Regions from separate parts of the Homo sapiens genome. Here region 1 is linked to region 2. The links are contacts of gene promoters, found by promoter capture Hi-C in human tissues and cell types (Jung and others, 2019). All regions are on one chromosome and are shown on one strand. Each heading gives the region's core, a stretch centred on a gene start or on the middle of the fragment in contact. The rest is flanking DNA. Distances are from core to core; before and after follow the strand shown.

Region 1 (5,562 bases), core at 2,856-5,355, 430 kb before region 2:
TTTAGAAAAGCACACTGTAAATCATTGATGAATTGTTTCAAGTACTTGTATACATTTAATGTTACTGTTTTCTCTGTAAGCAGTTACTCAGCTTTGGTTTCAGTCATCTGCAGTTTTTCAGTGAAAAATGCTGGCATCAGATACGGTATTTTTGGGAAAACAGCAGTTAAAAAGTGAACATCTAAAGAACTGCGATAACTGATTTCTCTCAACTTCTTTTTTATTTTGTTTTTTTTTTGAGATGGAGGCTTGCTCTGTCACCCAGGCCGCAGTGCAGTGGCAGATCTCCACTGCAACCTCCACCCGGCAAGTTCAAGCAATTCTCATGTCTCAGCCTCCTGAGTAGCATGAGTAGGTGGGACTACAGGCATCCGCCTCCACACCTGGCTAATTTTTGTATTTTTAGTAGAGACGGGGTTTCACCATGTTGGCCAAGCTGGTCTTAAACTCTTGACCTCAAGTGATCCGCCCACCTTGGCCTCCCAAAGTGTTGGGATTACAGGCATGAAACACCGCACCCGGCCTTAGCTTCTTTTTTTCCCCCACCATGTTTAGGTGCCTAATTCACCATCCCATTCTGCCATGTTCAGGGGAGAAAGTGCTTAGCCATAAAAATCACTGGGGCACTTGTTAAAAATACAAATGCTGAAGCTTCAGTCTGGAGCATTGGATTTCAGTATAAATCTGTTTTCCAAGACCCCTATTCCTCACCCTCAGGTAATTCTTCAGACCCAGAAAGTTTGGGAAAACTGCCCTAGGGAATACTTAGATTACTTGATTAAAGAACAATTATAATACCTTTCATTTTTTTTAGGGCCTATTCATAAGCAGCTAAGTTCTAATAGATGCCTCACTGTTGTTTATAGCATCTTTGTAAATTAGTGTTAATGGTTCCAATTTTTTTCATTGGGGGAAATCAAGGCATGTGACAAAATTTCTGGGACTCTTCCAGATCCTCTGACCATTTGAATCAGCTCTTCATTTAATCATATACATGACTCTCTGGAGCTCCAGTTGTACCTCCATAAAATCTCATGACTTTCTACTTGCGCTCTTGTCTGTGCCAACACCTCCCTGGGTCTCTCATACATTGCCACTGAGCTAGATGTTCAGTAACTTCCTAACTTGTCTCTTTTCTTCCAGACTTTTCTTTTTACTCTGCTCCCTCTAGCAACTAATGAGAACCCTTAGCAATGTTGGAACCTCTGCCTGTTCATAGGAAGGCAGTGCGTATAGTTGTTAAATGAGCAACTTTAGAGGTAGAAAGGCAGGATTGAATCTTAGCTCCACAATTTTATTAGACATTGGTCATGTTGGTTTTTTTCTTTCTTTCTTTGAGATGGAGTCTTGCTCTGTCACCAGGCTGGAGTGCAATGGTGCTATCTCGGCTCACTGCAATCTCTGACTCCCTGGTTCAGGCAATTCTCCTGCCTCAGCCTCCCGAGTAGCTGGGATTACAGGCATGCGCCACCACGCCCAGCTAATCTTTGTATTTTTAGTAGAGGTGGGGTTTCACCATGTTGGCCAGGCTGGTCTCGATCTCCTGACCTCGTGATCTGCCTGCCTTGGCCTCCTAAAGTGCTGGGATTACAGATGTGAGCCACCACACCCAGTCTGACAATTGGTCGTGTTTTTTAGCCTCATTTTTCTGACTTGTAATTTGGAGAAAACCACCTCATATAATTGTTAACATTAAATGATAGTGTTTTTGAGCCATTTAGCAAAGTAGCAGGCACATAGTAAGTGCTTAATAAATGCTCACCATTGCACTCATTATTGAGCCATTTAAATAATATGGAAATTATGGTTTTTGATAATTTGAAAAACTTCATCCTTAGAGTTATCTGGGACAAGTTCTTTTATTGCAATTAATTCTTGGGTTTTTTCCCCCCATTTTGTTTCACAGTCATTGCTCTGTTCAGTTCTGCTTTCTTTTTGGATCAATTTTAGTCCTTTGTATTTCTTAGTAAATTATTCATTTCATTGAGATTTAAAAATTACTAGCATGAAGTTATGTGTAATATGCTTTTTAAATGACTTTATTCTCCCAATCCGTGGTTATATTTGTTTATAATTTCTAAATTTGAGTATCTGTAGCATCATCTTTGCTTGATTAGTTTAGCCAGAGCTTTGGCTAAATGTGCTTTTTTTCTTTTTTTTTTTTTTTTTTTAAAGCAGATCTAGGAAGTCTAAGTTTCATGCTTAAAAGCTTCTAGTTCATTGATTTCTTATTTTCTCTTGTTATTTTAAAATTTTTTATTTTAATGCTTAAAGTTTATTCTTTCTCATAAAACACCTTTATTGTAGAGAACTTGCTCAGTCATCCCCAGCCAGCCCTGGAGCAAGCTTCTGGTCAGCTCTCCTCTTTCCAGCCTGCTCATGGTCATCCAGTCTCATCTCGTTCAGAAAACCAGAGGCTTCCAAGGAAAGCTGTGTTAGGACACTTTATTACTGGTACCTGAATCCCAACTCAGACCAGCTCACATAAAAAGAGGAGCTGAGTGGCTCACGTTATTGGGGTTCAGGGTATAAGTGCCTTTAGGCACAGTCTGATCCAGGAGTGCATGTGGTATTTTTGGGAACCTGTCTTTTTCTCTTAGGTCATCTGCTTTTCTCTGATAATTTTATTTTTCCAGCAGCCACTCCTGTGTGGCAGAGAAAGATGGGTCTTGTCTCTTTGGGTTTCTCACAGTCCTTGTAGCCCCAAGTGTCTTAAGTTGAGATAACTTCTCCCTTCAAATACTCATCTCTGTCCCTAAAAAAGGATTCTGATTGTTTTGCCTGGGTTTACTACTATTACTATTTTGTTGACTATTGCCTGTGGGTTAGAATTGATGGAAAGACTTTGCTTATGAAAATGAACAGGGTTTACTTATATAAACAACGTGGAAGGGAGTTAGCATAGTTAGAATACAGACAGAGGTGTCTGTCACATTATCTATGACAGATGGAGGTACAAGCGAGCGGTACCAAGAATCCTCACTGAGAATGCTCAATTGCAGATGATACGATCTGATGGAGAAAGAGGGTAAACCTCAAACTTTCTGAAGGTATAACTGTCACCGTTCCAGCCAGATGTTCCTCATCAGTCACAGTGTGATCACTGCCCTTCGGTACCTGGCATAACCAAGCATGAGCACTCAGTCTCCCAAGCCTGCTTCCTGTACACTCCTGAATTCAGTAGTGCAGGACTGGAAGAGGCTGGCTCCCTGATGGGTGAGTCATGCCAGCAAGCCCTGAGATGAGCCGCAGCCTCACCTGCTTGAGGTCCTGCCCAGCCGTGGTCTGGGGGAGGGACATTCTGATTGGCCAGCAGCGGTCACACCCTTTCCCCAACTATCAGTGGGACTTCATATGGCACCAGAAAGAAATAGATGTCAACTCCAACAGTGTTTGCCACATCCCATGAAACTTAATGTGTGATAGTCTTGTTTTTCTTATTTCTTCGTATTTTCTAAGTAATCTTGTTACAGTTTGGATTTCCTCATTGATACAGAATTATTCAGGAGAGGGAGGATATGAGTGTGTTTAATGTCCTCACGATCAGATATTTAGTTAGGTTTGGATTTGAGGTGCAAATCACCTCTTCACCAGGTTTTTGGTCAGGAAAGTATACACCAAAGAATGGAGCCTAATGGGGTTAAAATTTCAGTTTTCCCTGGTCATGACGAGTATTGAGAACAAGGCTTGAATATCAGGTCGGAGTGACGGTTTCTGCTTCCTCCCTAATTGATAGTAACTAGTCCCAGTGAGGGAACGAGTTGATTTACCCACACGGGGACAAGCAGAGAGGTGGAAAGAGGCCTGACAGGCTTCTAGAAGGCTCCGCCTAGTCTGCTGATCATGTGCAGCAGGAAGCTTACTATGAGCCCTTTTCACCCAAGAGCAGATGGTCCCAGAGAGAAGAGATGGGCCCACTCTGGGTTTTTTATGTTAAAGTTGAGCCCAAAAGATTTTGGGCTCTCACTGATTGAACTAGAATATTTCTCCACCTTGAGAATGAGTAGGGGGTTGCTTGTGGGCCAGGAAAAGAAAGCACTTCATGTGGTGAGGTTAATGGCATTGTGGTCAAAACTGTGACCTGAACAAGCTTTTCTTTCTGGGGCTTAAGATTCCCCCTTTGTTGTCTGATGGGCTGCTGATTTTTGTAAATATTGAGTAAGTCCTGGAAAATTACGAGCACTCTTTTTTTTTTTTTTTTAATGGTAGAGATTCCTTGGCATAGATATTAGCCTTGGAAAGTACATTATTCCAATCTTTTATTGTTTCCATTTCTGGACGTGTTTCCTGAAAAGCAGCTGCATCTAATTCTCTTTTGTGCATGACCTACCTTGACTGTCCTGCCCTCCTGGCCCTAAGTCCTACAGCCTCAGGGTGAGCGCCTCTTGGCTGCTTTTTGATGGGGCTGTCCCTGTACTTGGAGAGTCATTTCCAAATTCCAAATTCTGCTAAAGTGAGAGGGGATCCAAGTGTGCCGCCCATGCCTTTCACTTAGGCTGGGATTATGGTTTTTGCCACTTTCTCCAGAAGCCCCTGATAGTTGCTTAACCAAGTCCTATATCTGTTATTTGTAACAGATGCTCCTCAAAGCCTGTGGGATGTAGATAGCACCACTCTTAGTTTTCATTGGTATTTCAGAAGAGGGGAGGTTGATACCCGGGCCTGAGCCAGTCTCTACCTGGAAGTCCCTCCTGGTCGTCTTGCCTGCCTGCCAATGGCACTTGCCCCAGCCCACCCTGCCCTGCCCTGGAAGTAGCTTCCCCTTTATTTGTTCTCCTCTAGCACATATCTTTATCTTTCATTCATCTTGTTAATCACCATGGTGCACATTGTAGTGTTTTGTATAAATATTTATTTAATGAGTAATTCTAGGCATAATTTTTATTCATTTATGTAAGAATTGTAAAAAGATGAGTTTTTTTTAAGTGAACAGTATTTTTAATTTACACTTCCATTTAGAAAGGGAAAAGTTAAGGCAATCAGTAAGTGAGCCTGTATCTGTATTTCGTAAGTCAATTTTTCAAATTGACAGGTGAAAATTGTATATATTTAGGTGTGTAGCACGTCATTTTGATATATGTAGAAATTGTGAAATGGCTAAATCAAGCTATTTAACATATGTGTAATTACCTCACATACTTTGTGTGTGTGTGTGTGTGTGTGTGTGTGTGTGTGTGTGTGTGTTGAGAACGCTTAAAATCCCTCTTAGCAATTTTCAGGCAGTTACCATGTTGTACAATAGATCTCTTGAACTTATTTCTCCTGTCTAACTGAAACTCTGTGTCCTTTTACCAACATCTCCCCCAACCCCCGCCTCTGGTAAACACCATTTTACTGCTTCTGTGAGTTTGACTCCTTTAAATAAAACATATAAGTGAGAGCATGAGGTATTCATCTTTCCGTGCCTGGCTTATTTCGTAGGACTGCAGTATTTTGTGTATTAAAATAGAGTACATGAGGGCACTTTGAAAAAAATTTTCTGAAGACATTAGGAGTAAAGGAATCTCAGCTCCCAAATTAAGCCACCCCTTTCCAAATAGCTTTTCTTTTTCTTTTTTAAAT
Region 2 (5,455 bases), core at 1,894-4,393:
TCATACAATTTATATACAATTTATGTATATTACAATATAAGAAACCTCTTTAACTAGGCATCATTTAATACTGTCCTTTTAATATATACATGAACTGTATGTATATACTACTGTATGTAACTGAATATTAAGTCAACTATTTAAAAATCAATGTTTATAGTATAGAAACAGCTATATATTTAAAAAACTTCAGCAGCTACATGTTTTAATTCAGTGAATAGAGGAATGTTTATCAATATATAATCATTAAATAGTATAAACACAAATGTCTTGTTGTTCTAAACATTAACATTGGTTAATAAAATATCTTAACATTTGATGAATATTTTAGAAGGTAAACATAGAAAATCAAATTATAAAAAGGCGTGACCAGACAAAGAAGGGTTATTTTTTTCATTCATCTATAAAACAAATTTATGAGATCATAAAAAACAATTTAACAACCTAAAGAAGGTTCAAAGGTGGAAGAAAGAGCCTGAGAGAAAATGGATTTGTCTATGATTTTTGTCATCCAGTCTTAGAGGGGAAAAAACAGAAAATGTAGCTTCATTTTGCACTATAAAATAGGAAGCATAAAATCCAGTAGTCTGTATGTGGACTTGTATTTGTGTACTTAAACCCTGTTTCAATTCACAGATTATGCTGATCCTTCCACATATAAACAGCCAATAATGATGGCCAGGCCTTCAGGAAAGGAAAACACACACCACACAGCAAGGTCAGGAAGCTACCAAGCACCACAGGACAACAGATCAAAACAGAATGGTTTCATATGTTTCTATTGTTTATATATTTAATTTGAAGATGATATTCCTTAGGGAAGGGGGTATAAATATTACTAGGAACATGCAACACAGTATCAAATATATACTTTTCAAGCAAATATACCAAATATTTCACCCATGTATCTGTCAGTCAATCTGTAGTATTAACAGCCTTTCATTCAATTCTTTTTAACTTAGATTATCATGCCAAAATAAACCTCTTTAGTCGTAAACCTCTTTATTTCTAACTACAGAAAATTTATATTTACCTTTTTTTGAGGAAACAACCGGCTTCCATAAAAGTATCTTTTTTACTATAAAGGGATTAAGCAGTAGAGAGGAGTAAAGGCAGAAGTATTAATTCATTATTTCCTGGGTAAAATTTTGAAAATGGGAAGCAATGAAATTCTGTTTGGTATTAAAACATCTTTAAAAATTACAACACAATACGAGCAAAGGTGGAAATTTACCCCAAGTAGCAGACCAGCACATTTTAAACACACAAGCAAGAGCCGCCTCTGGCCACATGTTTTTTTGAGTTCAGTCTCTTAAAGAGACAGTATACGTAGACCAATGACTACACGGAGCACATTTCTAAAATGTTTATCAAGCATCCCTCTATTGCACGCATTTCTTTACAACCACATTAGGCCAACAGTGTTCTATTTTATTTTACTATGAAGTCAAATTATTTTGATCTGAATCTACAAAATGATTACAGGACAGGCAGCGATGAAATAATAAAGGGAGCTACTGTGACTAGAGGTGTCTAAAATAAGGCAATCTATACATTTCTTTCCACAGCAAACTGTTTCGCTTTGTTTTTTCAACCTTAAAATGATCATGTTTCTTCATTTTTCTACCCATTCACCAGATACAGGCGACAAAGTATATTGTATAGGTAATACCGGAAACAACAAGAACACTATTTCGCTGTAGAATGAAGCAGGGGGAAATGCTAATAACGTCAACCTTAATATATATAGTGAAATTTCAAATATTTTCTTTTCTCTTTAGACAGAAAACCCAGGAAAAGGCCCATACACGTACCCTAAACGTTGGACTACCTAGTGATTTCAGGGAAGATTTTGTCTTTCAATATACCGAAGGACATCTTATCGTACGTCTATTGGCATAACTACCGATCAGCTCCTCCACATGGAAAAAGATGAAGAGGGGGACAAAAAAGTTTGGCTTACTTGGTGTACAAATACATCGACTGGAATATCCAAGGGGCTTCCCTCTCGGTTTATCATGGAGATGAATCCAAATCCCATGCGCACATTGAACCACTTACAGTGGCCAGTTCCGCGCAAAACCTGGGATTCCTCCTCTGCCGGCTCCGGCAGCTTCCCGGGCTCTTCTCCACCACCTTTGCTAGCCCCGCCTGAGAAGGAACAGGACAAAAAAGTCAGTCTGTATTCCCATTCAATGTGCATTCAAAGATTAAAAAAAAAAAATTGCCTGCCTGGGGTTGGGGGGGAAGGGTAACAGAAAAAAAAAATTTTTTTTAATGGTTTGATTTCTTTTCTCCACAGAAAATACTTAAAATGAAAAGGGTTAAAAGGAAAGCGGGGGAGGGGGAAGCCACACTGTTCTATCGATCACACCAACTTCCACGTTTCTATACATACGTGTACTTATTCATTTAACTCCATTTTTCAGCCACATTTTACATTACAGCATGCGATACTTTACTTGTATATTGCTGATTTAATACTGATCCCATTGACAAAGAGAAATTTTCAGCGAAACTATTCTCTCCGGCGGGCACGAGGAGGAAAGAGAAATCGTGAAGATGGTTTAGAGCTACTAGTTAAGGCACATGGGGCAGCACTGAATCCAGCGTTATTTGCAATGTGCATTCCCCTCCCCCCCATAACTTTCAATTAAAGTTGGGGTGGAATGGGGGAGGGGGCAGGTGTATAAAAGTTTTCTTGGAATCACTAACTGAAACTGCGCTTAATCACACTCACACAATTCAAACAATAGCCCCCTGAAAGCTTTTCAAGTTGTGAATCAGTGTGGGCGGTACAAAACATTTTTGGAGATCTATAACAATAGGTTTGCAGAAAGCCCCACTGCGTGATGGGGGGTTGGGAGGTAATGCCCAGTATTGGGGTAAAAGGGGAAGGGGGGGACGGTCTAAGAAGGGTGGGAGAGGGGGAGGGGGAGGAGAAAAGAAGAAAGAAATTCACAGTAAAACAATAGAAAAGAAAATTAACCTTCGGCCATGTTGCCCCACGGGCCCTCAGCTCCAAACTCGTGAGATGAAAACTTTCCCTTTGGAACGGAGTGATCTTCTGCATCAATCTAACATCTTGATTTTGTGCGATCACAAATTTAGCTCGCATGGTCTAATGTGCTTTCCTTCTTTTGATTTTTTTCTCTCCTCTCTCCAGTTTCTGGCCCCCTGAGCACACGTGACTTTGTCAATTACATGCTTTCTTGCTACTAATTTCACCTCGTATCCTTAAGGGGCTGGCAAGAGGAAGAGATAACCAATCGCCATTTCATCTATGCTGACATCAAAATAATTTATGAATGAACACGAAAAACTCAAACATGTTATCTTAAAGACAATTTGGAACGCTTCTTTAGGATAAATCAGAATGCTGATTTCGTGCTTCTACTTAAACACAATGGAGGGACCTTGTGAATCATAGATTTAGAAAAAAAGGCAGTCATATATGTGCACACGCGTGCCTTACACACAAGCCTGACTAAAATCATGGGAGGGGGTCGTTTAAATAAAACAACCGATGTTAACGCTTTTTTTCCCCTTAAGAATTCAGCTATTCCATGGCAGTAAACCTGCTTGGAACGCTAATTTCATATTTAATTCAATTCTTAGAGGAAAATATATAATTTATAAAAGATCTAATTAAACCTAATTACATCCCCATGAAACTTTAGATAATGAAAACATACACCTAGGAAAAGGCAGAGGCACATAAATTACCTGATTATGCCCGAAATTTTTTCAAATTTAAAATAAAATCCTACTAGAAAAATCGTTTTCACCTTCATATAGTCAAATTGTGTTTAGGTAAACCATTTTGGAAAATTTTAGAGGGGGTTGGTAAGGAATTGTACTTCACAGGTTTCTCTGCCATCTCTTTCCGGGGGAGGAGATGTGATTAATGACTTCCTAAATAACAGCCCAGTTTTCCAGCCTAACATAGAGTGAACCTCAATCAGTGGCGATTGTTCCCCAAGAGCTGGAGGACATAGGGCAGGAGGGGGAGGGGATCGCCAGGCAGGGGAGGTGAAGAGGAGCCGCCAGGATAGGCGGCAGCAGAGTCAAAGAAAGAGGTGGGAGAGAAAAAAAGCCGGCGCGGGCAGGGGGTGGGGTGGAGAAAGAAGGACAAGTGGGAGAAAAAAGGTAAATTCATATCATATTGACTTGTACCCTGACATTTTAAAAGTCCACTACCAATGGCTAGAAGAGTTGAATAAACGAAAATGTAACAACGGATGAAGCTCCTACTGTCCTTCCTCAACTGACCCCCAGTTTCAAAATGCCTACCCCCTTTACCTTTCAAACTGGTTCAAACGATTGATTACAAGATGCTGGCAACAGTATTTCTGCCCTTATCGAATACTATAATAAATATTATAGATTAACTAAAAAGACTTTATTTCCTTTAAAATATAAAATATCGCTATTTTAAAACCTTAAAATGCACCACCAGACTTGCCTACCCCACCCCCCATTTTCTTAAACAAGCAGTTTACCAAGAAACTAACTGTTCAGATACCACTTCCTTCGACAAAGCTACCGAGTTGACCCTCCCCCACCATGCCAGCAATCCCCCTCCCAGTCTCTTCAAACACATCCACACTCCAGCACTGTTTCACACAAGCTAAAATGTAGGGATTATGAATCGAAGAGCTATGGAAAAAGCTGTATACACCTATTTATACTCCCTCCCCATATTAAACAACTAAATATAAATTTAATTGGCTCAGATTGGAAAATGGATGTATAAAAAATAGAAGTTATTTTCAGCTGTTTTTGATAAAAGGTTTAATGAAAACTAATCAATTTGGAAAGATTTTTTTTTTTGTCTGTTATTCCTTTTGTTATTTCTCAGGAAAAAGGGCTACTTTCTCATTTTATTTATTTTGGGAGGAATAATCCTGTGCCAGCTGTTAGGGAGAAAAGAAAAGGTGCAAAAATCCAATGACTTTGAAAGTTTAACAAAAGCTCAAAGCTCTGAAAAAATTATTTACTAACAAAACATTTACTAGGCATTATTTTGATGGTAGAAATTACTTCTATTATACTGATTACACTGACAAGAAAGTAATCTCAATGATGGCATTACAGGCTAAGCTTGTGACATAATATGAAATCGAGAAAGTAATTTATATTTTTTCATATTTTAATAATCACTTTAAAAAATCAACATCTGGTATAAGAGGAAAAAAATCTCAGAAAGTATTCATGTAAATTGAGGTGAAATGCTATTACTTACATAAAAGTAATGATCACAAAATTCACAGGCCAGTATAGTTTAGCTTTGTAAAATATTCATTTAAGTTTGCTTTTAATTAGAAAACAGTTTAATCATTATAAAACCAGAAGCATAATAATGTAGGTAGATTCAGAATCTGTTTATTGTTAAATTTGATGAAATTCAAATTTATGAACATGTGGGTGAAAAGTGGAATACCATAACTGAACT

The links. The method cuts DNA at HindIII sites, captures the fragments that hold promoters and counts their contacts. A contact is called where the count stands out against the background at its distance.
Region 1: a fragment that was not itself captured here is called in contact with the fragment with the promoter of LIN28B in region 2 in 1 of the 25 tissues and cell types used here (spleen).

Annotation. Positions count from the first base shown.
Region 1 is chr6:105,381,893-105,387,454 of GRCh38, reverse strand. The region is part of intron 2 of PREP (prolyl endopeptidase); the gene reads left to right. Among named protein-coding and RNA genes, the nearest start is that of PREP, 18 kb to the left of the region's middle. The HindIII fragment of the contact is 3,654 bases long and covers 2,279-5,562 here.
Region 2 is chr6:104,954,795-104,960,249 of GRCh38, reverse strand. LIN28B (lin-28 RNA binding posttranscriptional regulator B) reads right to left here and starts at 3,143. Exons shown (of 4, transcript NM_001004317.4): 1 at 2,990-3,143; 2 at 1,964-2,151. The coding sequence starts at 2,999. RefSeq lists enhancers at 2,255-3,192, 3,193-4,130. The HindIII fragment of the contact is 4,416 bases long and covers 1-3,935 here.